Linked DNA regions of Homo sapiens: region 2 is linked to region 1. Evidence: promoter capture Hi-C in human tissues and cell types (Jung and others, 2019). All regions are on one chromosome and are shown on one strand. The core of a region is centred on a gene start or on the middle of the fragment in contact, and the rest is flanking DNA. Distances in the headings are between cores, read along the strand shown.

Region 1 (6,124 bases), core at 1,292-3,791:
GGCACTGAACTGTAAAGTAAAGGCAAAGTGTAAATATGAAGGCGTGCCCGTGCCCCTTGCCTCCTGTGTTTCATCTTCGTCGGTTAGGGAAGAAGGTCCAGAGGTTTGTTTGTATTTATGCCGATCCTTTGTCCAGAAGAAGCCCATGGAATATTGAATGTAATACATTTAGTCAATTAAATTTTAAGGAGATTCTTATCTAATAACTTTGTGTGTGCTTTTGGATACAGGCTGAGGCTTTACTCCTACACTGGTGCTGTTAATTTTACCCTTTCAGGGGATGTCTGCTCGGCTTTGGCTGCCCTTTATAATTTAGATCTGTAGTTTAAATGAACATTAAATGAGTATTTCATGAAATACTCAAAGTTTGATTAATTTTAAGAAAAGTATTTGGCCTTCTCTGCTGGAAGGAGCTTGTATAATTAAAACACTGCCAATAGAGGCTCACCTTTCAGGGGCTGCGAATTGCTGAGGAGATAGATGCTTATGTTACGGGAGCAAGAAAGTGCCAGCTGTGCCCTCTGCTTGCAGAAAATTTGAGCCCTAGTAGGACTAGACAGTCAGGAAAGGGGGGAGGTGCAGAGATCATCCCCTGCCGCCCACTGCCCCCTTTGTGAAGGGCATCTTGGAGCCAGATGAGTGCCTTCAGGCCTGGATCACACATAGTGGAGTGAATGGACCACTTGAAACAATCATGAGAACCATTGTGGCCATGCCTCTGCCAAGAGCTGCTGACGTGTGCCCTCTGAACTGTGCCTGGGAGCTGCCTACCTTGCACTGTGTGTTCTGCCTGCTCTGCCCACGCACAACAGGACCTCCAGCTGGGCCTAGTGGCCAGAGACGCTGACTGCACAGTAGCCCTGTTTTGGTGTCTGGAAAGGTTTTGTAGCCAGAAAAAAAATGTGTGCTCAAGCCTTTCCCAGCTATGCTGCTCAGCTCTCTCTCTGACCGCAGCCCCTTCAGGACCCAGTTCCAGGGAATCACCCCCAACCCAGACCACCTGCTCCTCCTTCTCTTGGCCTCTGGGCCCTGCATCAGGAGCACCCTGCCAGAGCACTGCTCCTCTTGGACACTCATTCTAGTCCATTTTCCCAGACTTCCTCTTGTAGGAATTCTGGCCTTCCCACAGCTGGGCTAGGACTCTTGAAACCATGCCCCAGCTCTCCCAGCCCCTCCCATGCTCTTATTTTTTCCTGTTGCTGGCCCCATGCGCCCTTCTCCTTGAATCGGTGTCTTTTCCTATAAGGGGGTTTTCTACTCCATGTTTTTCCCTAAGTTTACCACCCCCTTCCTGCAGCTGCTCCCCCGCCTGGACCTGGTTTGCCTTTTCAACAGGTGCTTTTAAGTCATGAGATGCTGTAGTCTCAAAATCAAGCCTGCATCAGAATCATTCTAGTTGCTTATCAGTGTGTTGAATCCCAAGCCACACCCCCACCCCCAAGAGGTCTGAGGAGACGAAGGTGAGCCTGGGAATTGGCATGTTTAATAAATACACTCCAGCACCCACCCACCTGCTGGCAGTCACAGGCAGGTGGTCCAAGGGTCCTCTTGGAGAATACCATGCAGCAGCCACTCCAGTGGGAAGCCCGAAGCCTCCTTTCTGCCATGGTCTGGCACATGGAGGTTTACTGAATACTTGATGAGTGAACGGATGACAGATAGGAGAAGATGAGGATGACATGTGGAAGTGTTCTGGCCACTCAGGAGATAAAGGAACAAGATTCAAGTCGTTAGAAGCCCCTCACTGAAAACCCTAATAAGGAGAGGCACAAGCTTTCAGATTAAGTAATAATCATTTATAGTCATTTAATCTAGTAATAATTAGAATAATCTACTATGTGTTAGATTTTAAAAGTTTTCAGTGGCAGCCCAGTGACCAATCCAGCCTGGCAGACGTTTTGTTTAGCCAACAGTGCTTTGACAAGGTCTGATCCGACATTTTAAACTTGGGAGATTTCACAGAAATCCAGACTTTTTGCCTGTCTTGGGAAAGTTAGGAGTCCTGCAATAATGGACCTGCATTTCACTTGTAGCAGTTATTGGTTGGAGCTGCCATCACTGCATGCTTAGGATGCAGTAAGCTGCATCCAGTTTGCCGCAGTCCCCAGCACCCCCACCAAGTGTGGACGTGGGCACCCACAGCTGGTATTACAGGACCTGGGGACCCAGCTGGCTCCTGGAGGGGGTCTGTGACTTCAGATATATGAACACCGATCCTGGGGGTAATTTTTGTCCCATCTATTTTTCTAACTTAACAGAATTATCTCCATCTTACAAGAAAAAGGGTCAGAGGGGTGTCATGAACCCAATAGCTACTGGACTGAGATTCAAGCCCAGGCCTGCCTGGAAACCTGGGCTTTTTAATTCTCAGCCAGACTGTCTGTCTCACTGCCTCACTTCCCACCCTTTCATCCAGAACAGCTCTCCCTCAAAGTGTCCCCTGCATGCTTTGCCTGAAGTACACTGTGACTTCTTTGTTATGTCACAGCTTAGTCACAGTTGGGCTGAGAGCAGAGCATGGCCCAGCCTGCCAGGTCCCATGGGGCAGCCCTGCCAGCCCAGCCCAGGCTGGCCCAGCTTAGCCACACATGCGCCATGAAGTACCCTTTGATGCCGCTGGTGAACGACCTCACATTTTCTTTCCTGGTTTTCTGGTTCTGCCTCCCTGTGGGTTTGCTGTTGTTATTGATCATCTGGCTACGCTTCTTACTTAGCCAAGGTGAGCTTCTTACCCCGTCCAGGCAGGACCCTAATCCTGGAGCTAGGCAGGGGGCCAAATAGGCCAGTGTGTCCTGAAACAACTGCAGAAGGGGCTTCCTTCAGTCATTTTAAGTGCTCGCTTAGATACAAGCAGTCAACTCTTAAGTGGAAAGGATTGGTTTGGTTGTTTAGGGTTTCTTAACCTAGAGTTCGAGAGTGAGTCCTAGAGTTTGAACCTAGAGTTCGAGAGTGAGTCCTAGAGTTTGAACCTAGAGTTTGAGAGTGAGTCCTAGAGTTTGAACCTAGAGTTCGAGAGTGATCTTTTGAACAAATCAGAGGTTATCGCTCCAGGCAGATGAACTTCCAGGTGCCCCTTTCAGCTGGGGTGCAAGGCTCTGTGAGCAGAGCGTGGGCTGGATTTCAGCCCCGCTCACCCTCTCAATTGGCTGCTTTTGTGCAGTAAACAGCTTGCACGATGGGATACAGCAGCCTTAGGCATTTTTCAGATACCTGCAGACCACTCACTGTTTCTGCCTAAGCCATGTATCAGAAAGGATCTGGCTGCTTTGGGAGACAGGCTCATGGAAGCCAGCTGACATTCACCCTGACCTCAGCATGCCACCAAGAGGAGCAAGAGGTGGGACGAAGCTGGCTGTGGAGGAAGCTGGGGGTGGCTGGATCAGGATATGGCCTGGCTGTGTGGCAGGAGTGGGACTTCTGCTCCTCTGGCATGTGTCTCCCTGAGCATCCCCTTCAGCAAGAGGTCTCTTCCTGCTGGACACAGTGGCTCACACCTGTAATCCCAGCACTTTGGGAAGCCAAGGTGGCCAGGTTGCTTGAGCCCAGGAGTTTGAGACCAGGCTGGGCAACGTCCCTACAAGGAATACAAAAATTAGCCAGGTGTGGTGGCATGCATCTGTGGTCCCAGCTACTGAGGAGGCTGAGGTGGGAGAATTGCTTGAGCCTGGGAGGTCGAGGCTGCAGTGAGCCGAGATCACACCACTGTATTCCAGCAGACAGAGTGAGACCCTGTGTCAAAAAAAGGCCTCTTCGTGGGGACCACTTGACCTCCTACCTCCTGCTGCTGAGTGCCATGACCTTTGGCAAGCTAGGCAGGGAGGGCGCAGCACATGCCGCCAGCAATGGTCAGATGTTGTTGAGGCAGGGTGAGAAGTCCCTCCCCACACCCCTGCTAGCCCCATGATCTCAAATGTAGGGGCTTATAATTATGTAATTATTGGGAGTTCCTGGCAAGAACTTGGGATGTCCTTTTGTTTCTAGAAAGTGTTTATTTAAAGTATATTCTCCTCATAGTCCTAGGGTAGACCACAGCCCTCCCTGAGGGGCACGGTTTAGGCATTGGGCCCCACAGCTGGTAGGGAGTCAGCCTTGTTTGCATACTGGCGATAAAAGTTGTCTCTCTGGAGTCTGGAAGATATGAGTTCAGATATCATCCTTTTTTTTTTATTTTTATTTTTTGAAACAGAGTCTTACTCTTGTCAGCCAGGCTGGAGTGCAGTGGCACAATCTCGGCTCACTGCAACCTCTGCCTCCTGGCTTCAAGCGATTCTCCTGCCTCAGCCTCCCAAGTAGCGGGGATTACAGGTGCCCGCCATCACACCTGTCTAATTTTTGTATTTTTAGTAGAGATGGGGTTTCACCATGTTAGCCAGGCTGGTCTCGAACTCCTGAGCTCAGGTGATCCACCCGCCTCAGCCTCTCAAAGTGATGGGATTACAGGCATGAGCCACCGCACCCAGCCTCATCCTTGCTTCTTAATAGTTCCTAATAATAGTGAACCTGTTTGGAACACTGACTATATACCAGACCTTGTGCTAAACACTGGACTTGCATAATCTTATGTAATCCTCATAATAACCCTGCTTAATAATACTTAATAATATCACAATTGGGGAAACTGAGGCTAGGAGAGGAGAAGCAACCTGTCCAAGGTCATACATCTGTGAACTACTTAAGAGAGCCAATTGTCTGCCTTCAAATCCTGACTCTGCCACCTACCAGCTGCATGACTGTGGACACCTCTCTGAGCCTTGCTTTTCTCATCTACAAAATGGAGACAACACTAGTACCTGCCCCTTGGGGTTGTGACAGGCTTCAGTGGTCGATGCATATCGGGTACTTACAGGGCAGGGCACACAGTACGCATACACACCTGGCACATCGTAGGTTCCTGTAGGCTGAGAAAATAGTCCAGCCAATGCTGGTTTTGTCAATGTGGGAGGAAATGCAGGTGGTGTGGCTTTGGATGCCTTCTCCAGAGAGGAGACATTTCTCCTACCACCCAGGCCAAGGCCTGCAGCATGAGTCTCCTCCAGCATTCACTCTGCTTGGAGGCCCAACTCCAAAACCATCCACAACCTACCCCACTCCAACCCCTCCGCAGACTTTCTCCTGAGAGGCTGTTTACTGGTGTCATGTGGCGTTTTGAAATAAGTCATTTGTTAATTTTGCAACGAAGAGAAACCGTCCTTAAAGTGAGGTGGGCATTCCTCCCTCAGGTTCTCCGTCTTCTAAAACTCCCAGTATTATTGTGCGTGTTTTGCCCTTGTGCTGGGAACTGACCCAATGTCAGGGTTTGGGGGGCTAAGGGGTCAGGACACCCAGACCTGCAGTTTTCTATTCTGCTGCAGATCCCTTTATTGGAATCAGTTTGCCTGAAATCCAGTTTGAAAAGCAGACAGGAGTAGCTCTGCCGCCTCCTCCCCACCACCCCCCAACACTCCTGCTGGCTCCTCAGGGCAGTTTCAGGCCTCAGAATACAGAGGGTTAAGCGTGGAATACCCGACAGGATGCACTTTCCCAAGTCGAAGGAGGAGCAAATGGGGAGGAAAGGAGAGCTGCCTGATGAAACTGGCACTGAGGCAAAAATGATAATGGGCAGCTCAACTCCTGCAGAAGCTGGTCAGTGGGGACAGTGCTACTGTCTGGCCATGACATGGCCATAAGGTGGAGGAAGCCACACACACCCTTCAAGGGGAAGATGCCCTGCTGCCGGCATTTTCCTTTTGCGATTTGAAAGGAGTTTGCAGAAGGATGAAGGGAAACCTCCAAAGAGATGGGTTTGGGGCTGAAACAGAAGAGTGGCGCAACAACCCCTCATGGTGGGTCTTGGAGCAAGATGTTCAATTCAAAGCTGCCTTTAAATCCTCTGAGTCCAAACACACCCAATGGAACCGTGGAGTGGGGAGGCTGAATTTGCATCCAGTAGCACCACTCCCTGGCTGTGAGCCTGGACAAGTGATTTCACCATCCTCATCTGTAAAGTACAAAAAATACTAGTAATTGACTTCAGGAAGGTGTTAAGAGGATCAGATGAGAAAATGAATGTAACAACACTTTGCACATACTCTATGTTCAAAAAATACTCTCTCTAGTGAAGAACAGTCACTTCACGCTATCCTAC
Region 2 (6,274 bases), core at 2,973-5,472, 390 kb after region 1:
AGATAAAAAGTATTGCTTCTTCTGTATATCTTCATCTTTGAAAGTTTATAAACTTAACACCTTTTTCTGTTCATTGTATCAGAGAATCTGAAAAAAAAACATTTCTGCTGCAGGTACAGAGGGGCCAGGTGTAAGCATCTCTGAAGAGAGACAAAGTCTGGCTGAAAACTCTGGGACAACGGTTGTTTACAACCCTTATGCTGCCCTTTCCATAGAGCAGCAGAGGCAGAAGCTGCCGGTATTCAAGGTACGTCAAATAATCATGTTCAACCTGTGGGCTTGAATCGTGTGTCTGCATTAGCTTTATGCTCAGCACTGAAGGGAATGATGGCCTCTTTCTAGAACACAGTGAGCTCAGAGAAACCCTTACTGTAAGGGATGACTTTTCATACTGTGTATTTTTTAGTTAACCTTATAAATCTTGAAAGTCCTTAAGATTTTTTCAGTTGCATCGTACATACTGGAAAACTGGAGGAATTAGAATGACTTTTGTTTTCCCCTTTATTCCTTTCAGCTGTGGACAATTTCAGATATACAGAAAAGTAGAGAAAATAGCAGTTAATTTCTATATAACAGATTACCAACATATGGCCAATTTTTGCTTTATTTTTAAAGTCACTCCTTTAAACAAGTTTAATTGGGAATATGAGGTTGTTTCTGCTGAAGACATCAGTTAATACTCTGACTTCCTCTGAGACAGTGACAGGATTTTGGTATGGTTACTACTTACCAAGTGCACATCCAGACACTCAGTTTTATTAGCGCTCACGAAACAGATGTGTGCTCAGCTACAAGAGACCAAAGTGCAAACTAGAATTCATTCAGAACTGTTCATTTATGGCTAGCAATAATTCTCCAGTACAGATGGACACAGTTGACATATACACTTTGTCCCTGTTGGCACATCCACATGGGAAGCCAAATTGTAATCAGGAAGTACAGAGCCAAGACAGGTTACAGAAATGTCATACAGCCCCTGATGAGGGGTGAATTCTCCCTGCTCCACAGGATGCCCTTGGAATGACCCGAGTAGGTGTGGCCACCAGCATCTGTGTCTCTTTCTTTCTCCTGGACGGTGCTGGGTGAAAGTTGCTGTGTTCTATCTATCTGTCTGTCTGTCTGTCTGTCTGTCTATCTATCAGACAGGGTCTTCCTATATTGTTCAGGCTGGTCACGAACCCCTGAGCTCAAGCAGTTCTCCTGCCTCGGCCTCCCAAAGTGCTGGGATTACAGGTGTGAGCAGCCAAAAGGTGCCAAGTTCTTATACTCATGGAGTTCTTTTGACTAGACTGTGCTGATAATTCCTCTTCTATTAATGTGTTCTTTCTCCAAACAGATAGGCAACAGCAGCCTTCTTAATTTAGCCAGATTGCCTTACTTGGAGTTTTATGTGGCTCCCAATATTTTAGTCACAAGTGAACTGACTGTCTCTGGGTTTCTTCCTCAAGTGACTAACACATTCACTATGTATGAATGTTAGCAAGTTTGACTTTCAGGAGATGAAATGATAGGTTTACTATTGCTTTCTCACCACTGAGGGACAGTTTGAGCTGTGATGAAGTGTCCGGACTCTGGAGCTAGACTTCAGGGTTCAAACCCAAGCTTCACCATTTGTGTGCTGTGTGACCTCACTTCTCCATTCTGAGCTTCTTTTCTTTATCTGTGATGTAGGACTACAGGAGCACCTACCTCATAGGACTGTTATGAGGACCAGATGAGATCATCCATGCAGAGCATTTAGCAAGATACCTGACATGTAGTAAATGCTCAAGTACAAGGGAAATTACTGTTTACTCAAGTATTTAAATTTTGGCCTTTTCTTGACTATTCTTTGTCTCCCAACTGTACTTACAAGATAACATAAATGAAACAGCAAATGAAAAAAAAAAAAGCAACAAGAAGTTAAGAAATGTTTATGAAATTAAAATGGTAAGAAGAAGGGTGTAAGTTACTGATATAAAGCAAAGCAGAGTTTAAGTACAGTTGAGATCTTATAAGATGTTGAAGATGAATCGAGACAAAAAGGAAAACAAGTTACCTCTACGCCATCCTTTTTCCCTTTCAAACAAAAAGTAAAAGTAGCTTTAAAAACAGAAATTGGAGGCTCGGTGTGGTGGCTTACGGCTGTAATCCTATAGGCTTTGGGAGGCTGAGGCGGGTGGATCACTTGAGACAAGGAGTTCGAGACCAACCTGGCAAACATGGTGAAACCCCATCTCTACTAAAAATATAAAAAATTAGCCGGGCGTGGTGGCACATGTTTGTAATCCCAGCTACTTGGGAGGCTGAGGCAGGAGAACTCTTGAACCCGGGAGGTGGGGGTTGCAGTGAGCCAAGATTGCACCACTGCACTCCTGCCTGGGCAACAGAGCGAGACTCCATCTCAAAAAACAAAACAAAACAAAACAATGTTGGAACTAAAGCATCAAGAGATTGTTAAAGATCACTGCCTCTTCCCCAGCACCATTATGAGGCCACCTGTTCCCTTGTCTGCCTTCTTTAGGCTGCTGTATAGACAATAGTGACTCTATCTTGGATGCAAGTCTGCCATGTTCACTTCTGTTTAGACCCAGTCTTATAAATGCCTCCTGATTTCTGCTTTGTATATTGTCCTTAGTGTAAGAACATGTCAACCTCTCTGGGGGCAGCACTATTGACAGCTTCTTGTTTTGTTTTGTTTTTCCCCAAAAACAGTCTACGCATAAACAAGTAGATACGTGTTTGCCCTAAGAAGAATGCAGTTACTAGGGTATTATTCACACTGTTCTACATCTCACTTCCTTTTCTTAACATATCTTATAGTTCATTCCATATCAGTACAAGTAGATATTTCCTCTTCTTAATAACTACAAATTATTCCATTATTGGAATATTTTATGACTGATTTAACCAAACTTTTGTTGATCAACATTTAGGCTGTTTGAATTTTTGGCTATTATAAACAACTCTGCAATGAGTATGCTTGTATTTATGTCTTTGTACACATATAGTATGTAGCAGTATGTCTATAATTTCTTGTTTTTTTTGTTTTGTTTTGTTTTTTTTTTTTTTTTTTTTTTGAGACAGAGTCTCACCCTGTTGCTCAGGCTGAAGTGCAGTGGCATGGTCTCGCCTCACTGCAGCCTCCCCCCGCCTGGGTTCAAGCAATTCTGCTGCCTTAGCGTCCTGAGTAGCTAGTATTACAGGCACTTTCCACTGCGCCCAGCTAATTTTTGTATTTTTAGTAGAGACAGGGTTTCACCATGTTGGCCAGGCTGGTCTTGAACTCCTGACCTCATGATCCACCCCCGGCCCTGGCCTCCCAAAGTGCTGGGATTGCAGGCGTGAGCCACCTCACCCGGCCTATAATTTCTTATAAGTGAAAATGTAAAGGGCGTATGCATTATGTATTTTGATAAGTGTTAACACGATTGCAGTTGTATTCGCTCATACTGAGAGGAACAGTACCTGAGGGTTAGAAATACATTTTGATAGTTCTACTTAAAATTCACTTTCCTTTGAAAACAGCTCATTTCACAATGTTTAAATATCGTTGTTTAGGTCTTTTGAGACAATGTATGGCTATTTGCAAGGTGTGTTATTCTTTTTCAGCTTAGGAATCATATTTTATACTTGATAGAAAATTATCAGACAGTGGTGATTGTTGGTGAAACAGGATGTGGGAAGAGCACACAGATTCCTCAGGTGAGTACATATTTAATAAGTGTCTTTACACTTCGATTTGGCTGGAAGAATTTTGTAACTTGAGAGCTCTCTTTACTATCATTTACATTTTTAAGGTCTCCTTTCAGGAAATGTTCACTTCAACTAGATATTTTTTATTAAACTTTTAGGGCTTATAATTTCTTTGGTGAGTACTAAAGTAACAGTTTGTCTTCGATTTATTATAATTCCAAAATAGTAATGGAATGGCCATCTTCTGAAAGTTACAATGGAGATTTATTCAAAGATGTGAAATATAGAGTTTTTATCCTTAAATAGTTACAGTTGAAGGGGTGGGGTAAAATGAATTTTGCTGTAGTTGTAAATAAAAATTGGCTGTTATAGTATTATGCAGTGCTATGGAAGAACCCTTTCTTACTAGGAAAAATCCTATGTGATGTGGATAGGAGTAGAAAGAAGGATCAAGAAAGGCCTTGTAAAGGAATTGGCATTTGAAATTGACCTTGACTGGGAGCTGACTGAGAAGATATTCCAAGCCAGTGAATATTGTGGTTAGAAATACTGGGGTGGAGAAGTGTAGGGTGAGTTCAGAGTGTGTCTTAAGAACCTTAACTTGAAGAGTGAAGACTGACTGAGCTTGAGAGACCTTGCAGGTTCTTACTTCCTTTTTTAATGTTAATTTTCTTGAGGTATGACATATATGTAGGAAAGTACCTATATCATAATTGTACACCTTGATACATTTCTGCAAGTGGAATACATCTGTGTTACCAGCACCCAGATCAAGAAGCAGAACATTACCAAAACCTCAAGAACTCTTCTTCTGTGTTCTGTTCTCATCTCTAACTGCCATGTCTGCTTACCCCTACAATCATGAACACAAGGGTAGCTCTTATTCTGGCTACTAACCTCATAAATTAGTTTTGCGTATATTTGGAATTTTATAAAGGAATAATATAGCTGCTTTTGTCCAACGTTATGTGTGAGTCTTCCTTGGTGTTGAATTAGTTGCAGTTTGTTCATTCTCATTACTGCATAGCAGGGTTCGGCAAGTCACAGCCAGTGTGCCAGATGCAGCCCGCTGCCTGTTTTGTAGAGAAATCTTTGCTGGCACACAGCCACTCCTACTTGTTGATATATTGCCGGTGGCTCCTTTCAGGCTACCACACAGGGTTGAACAGTTTTGACAGAGACCCTACGATCCTCAAAACCTAAAAATTACCATCTGGCCCTTTACAGAAATGTAAAATGTAATGCTAACCCCTGCTAGTTAGTATTCCACTCTATGAGTATTCTGTGGTTTGTTTATTTTTCCTGTTGTTACTGACATTTGAGTCATTCCTAGTTTTTAGTTATGGATAGTGCTGCTGTGAACATTCATGTGCTTGTCTTTGGTGAACGTATGTGCACATTCTCCTGCTGGGCTCTACCTAAGAGTAGCATTGCTGGATCCTGTGTTCAACTTTAGTAAATAATGTCTAAGATATTCAAAGTGGTTGTGTCCTTGTAGGGTTTGCAAGCAAGTAAACAATATGACAAGCTGAGCTTTAGATAAATGATTATATTGAGATATAAGGTGACTTAGAAACTGGAGGAGGCAGGCCATAGAAAGCTATTGCAGTGGTCTAGAGAAGGATGGTGTAACGGGGTCCTCAACCAAGAGGTGATAGTGGGATAATCTGGTGAGGATGGGAAGGAGAACAATTTACAATTTTAGCGTTAGGGTCTGTAGACATTAGAAACTTAGGTTGGTGCTTTTGCACCAATCTAATAGATGGATATTTGTGATGACAAAGGGGAAGGGACAAAGGTGCACAGTGACTGATCACGACTTGCTGCCTTGGCGAACAGTGCTAGTATTAAATGTGATAGAAAAGTAAAGATTGTTTTTTTGAGGGGAAATTAATGTGTGTGTTTTTAAACATATTTATTTTTTCCTATATTATTGATGGCCTTTGATGACATTAGCAGGAAGTTTGGAATGGGAATCTGAAGCTTGGCAGAGGTCAGACGTAGAAGGTGTGGACATAGGGATTGAACATCCTGATACATGCAGGAAGGAGATGGAACAGAAATAACTGAGAAGAGGATTAAGGACAAAGTCCATGGAGCATCAACATTCAGGAGTCAGGAGCAGAAAGGAGATAGAATGGCAGCCAGGGAAATGACAGAGGAACCAGCAGACTCTTCATGGTTAGAGAAAGCAAAGACAGAGTGAGGTTTCTGGAGAGGTGGGTAGGTGGCAGTTTCAGCCAACAGAGCGGCCAGGGAGCAGGAGAACTGGTTCAGTCCTGGGTTATTCATCTTGGAGATAGCACGTCCAGTGGTAGGGTTTTAGGGTTAAGGGTGTCTAAGGGTAAGATGATAAAAATCCCTTTGCATATTTGAATATGTTAACAATGTGTTGTTGACTGTTTGGTCCAGACTTGTGGTCATGCCAGGATCTGTGTAGATCTTTTTTTTTGTCTGCTCCCCAACTCCATTTTGAATAATGGGTTTATAAATAGGTTGGGACCCAGATGTAGGTATTTTTTTAAAGTTTCCCAATAGACAGCTAGGGAAAGGTAGACAGACCTAGTAAAGGTAGATGACCTAGTAAAGGACAACTTGA

Evidence for each region. Contacts are between HindIII fragments. The study calls those that stand out against the background at their distance.
Region 2: a contact is called between a fragment that was not itself captured here and the fragment with the promoter of ADIG in region 1, in 1 of the 25 tissues and cell types used here (lymphoblastoid cells).

What each region holds. Positions count from the first base shown.
Region 1 is chr20:38,578,656-38,584,779 of GRCh38, forward strand. It overlaps ADIG (adipogenin), which reads left to right and starts at 2,542. Exons shown (of 3, transcript NM_001393816.1): 1 at 2,542-2,719. The coding sequence starts at 2,596. RALGAPB (Ral GTPase activating protein non-catalytic subunit beta) reads left to right here. Exons shown (of 30, transcript NM_020336.4): 30 at 1-203. The HindIII fragment of the contact is 13,860 bases long and covers 1-6,124 here.
Region 2 is chr20:38,968,968-38,975,241 of GRCh38, forward strand. It overlaps DHX35 (DEAH-box helicase 35), which reads left to right. Exons shown (of 22, transcript NM_021931.4): 2 at 114-247; 3 at 3,592-3,684. Among named protein-coding and RNA genes, the nearest start is that of DHX35, 9.8 kb to the left of the region's middle. The HindIII fragment of the contact is 6,927 bases long and covers 760-6,274 here.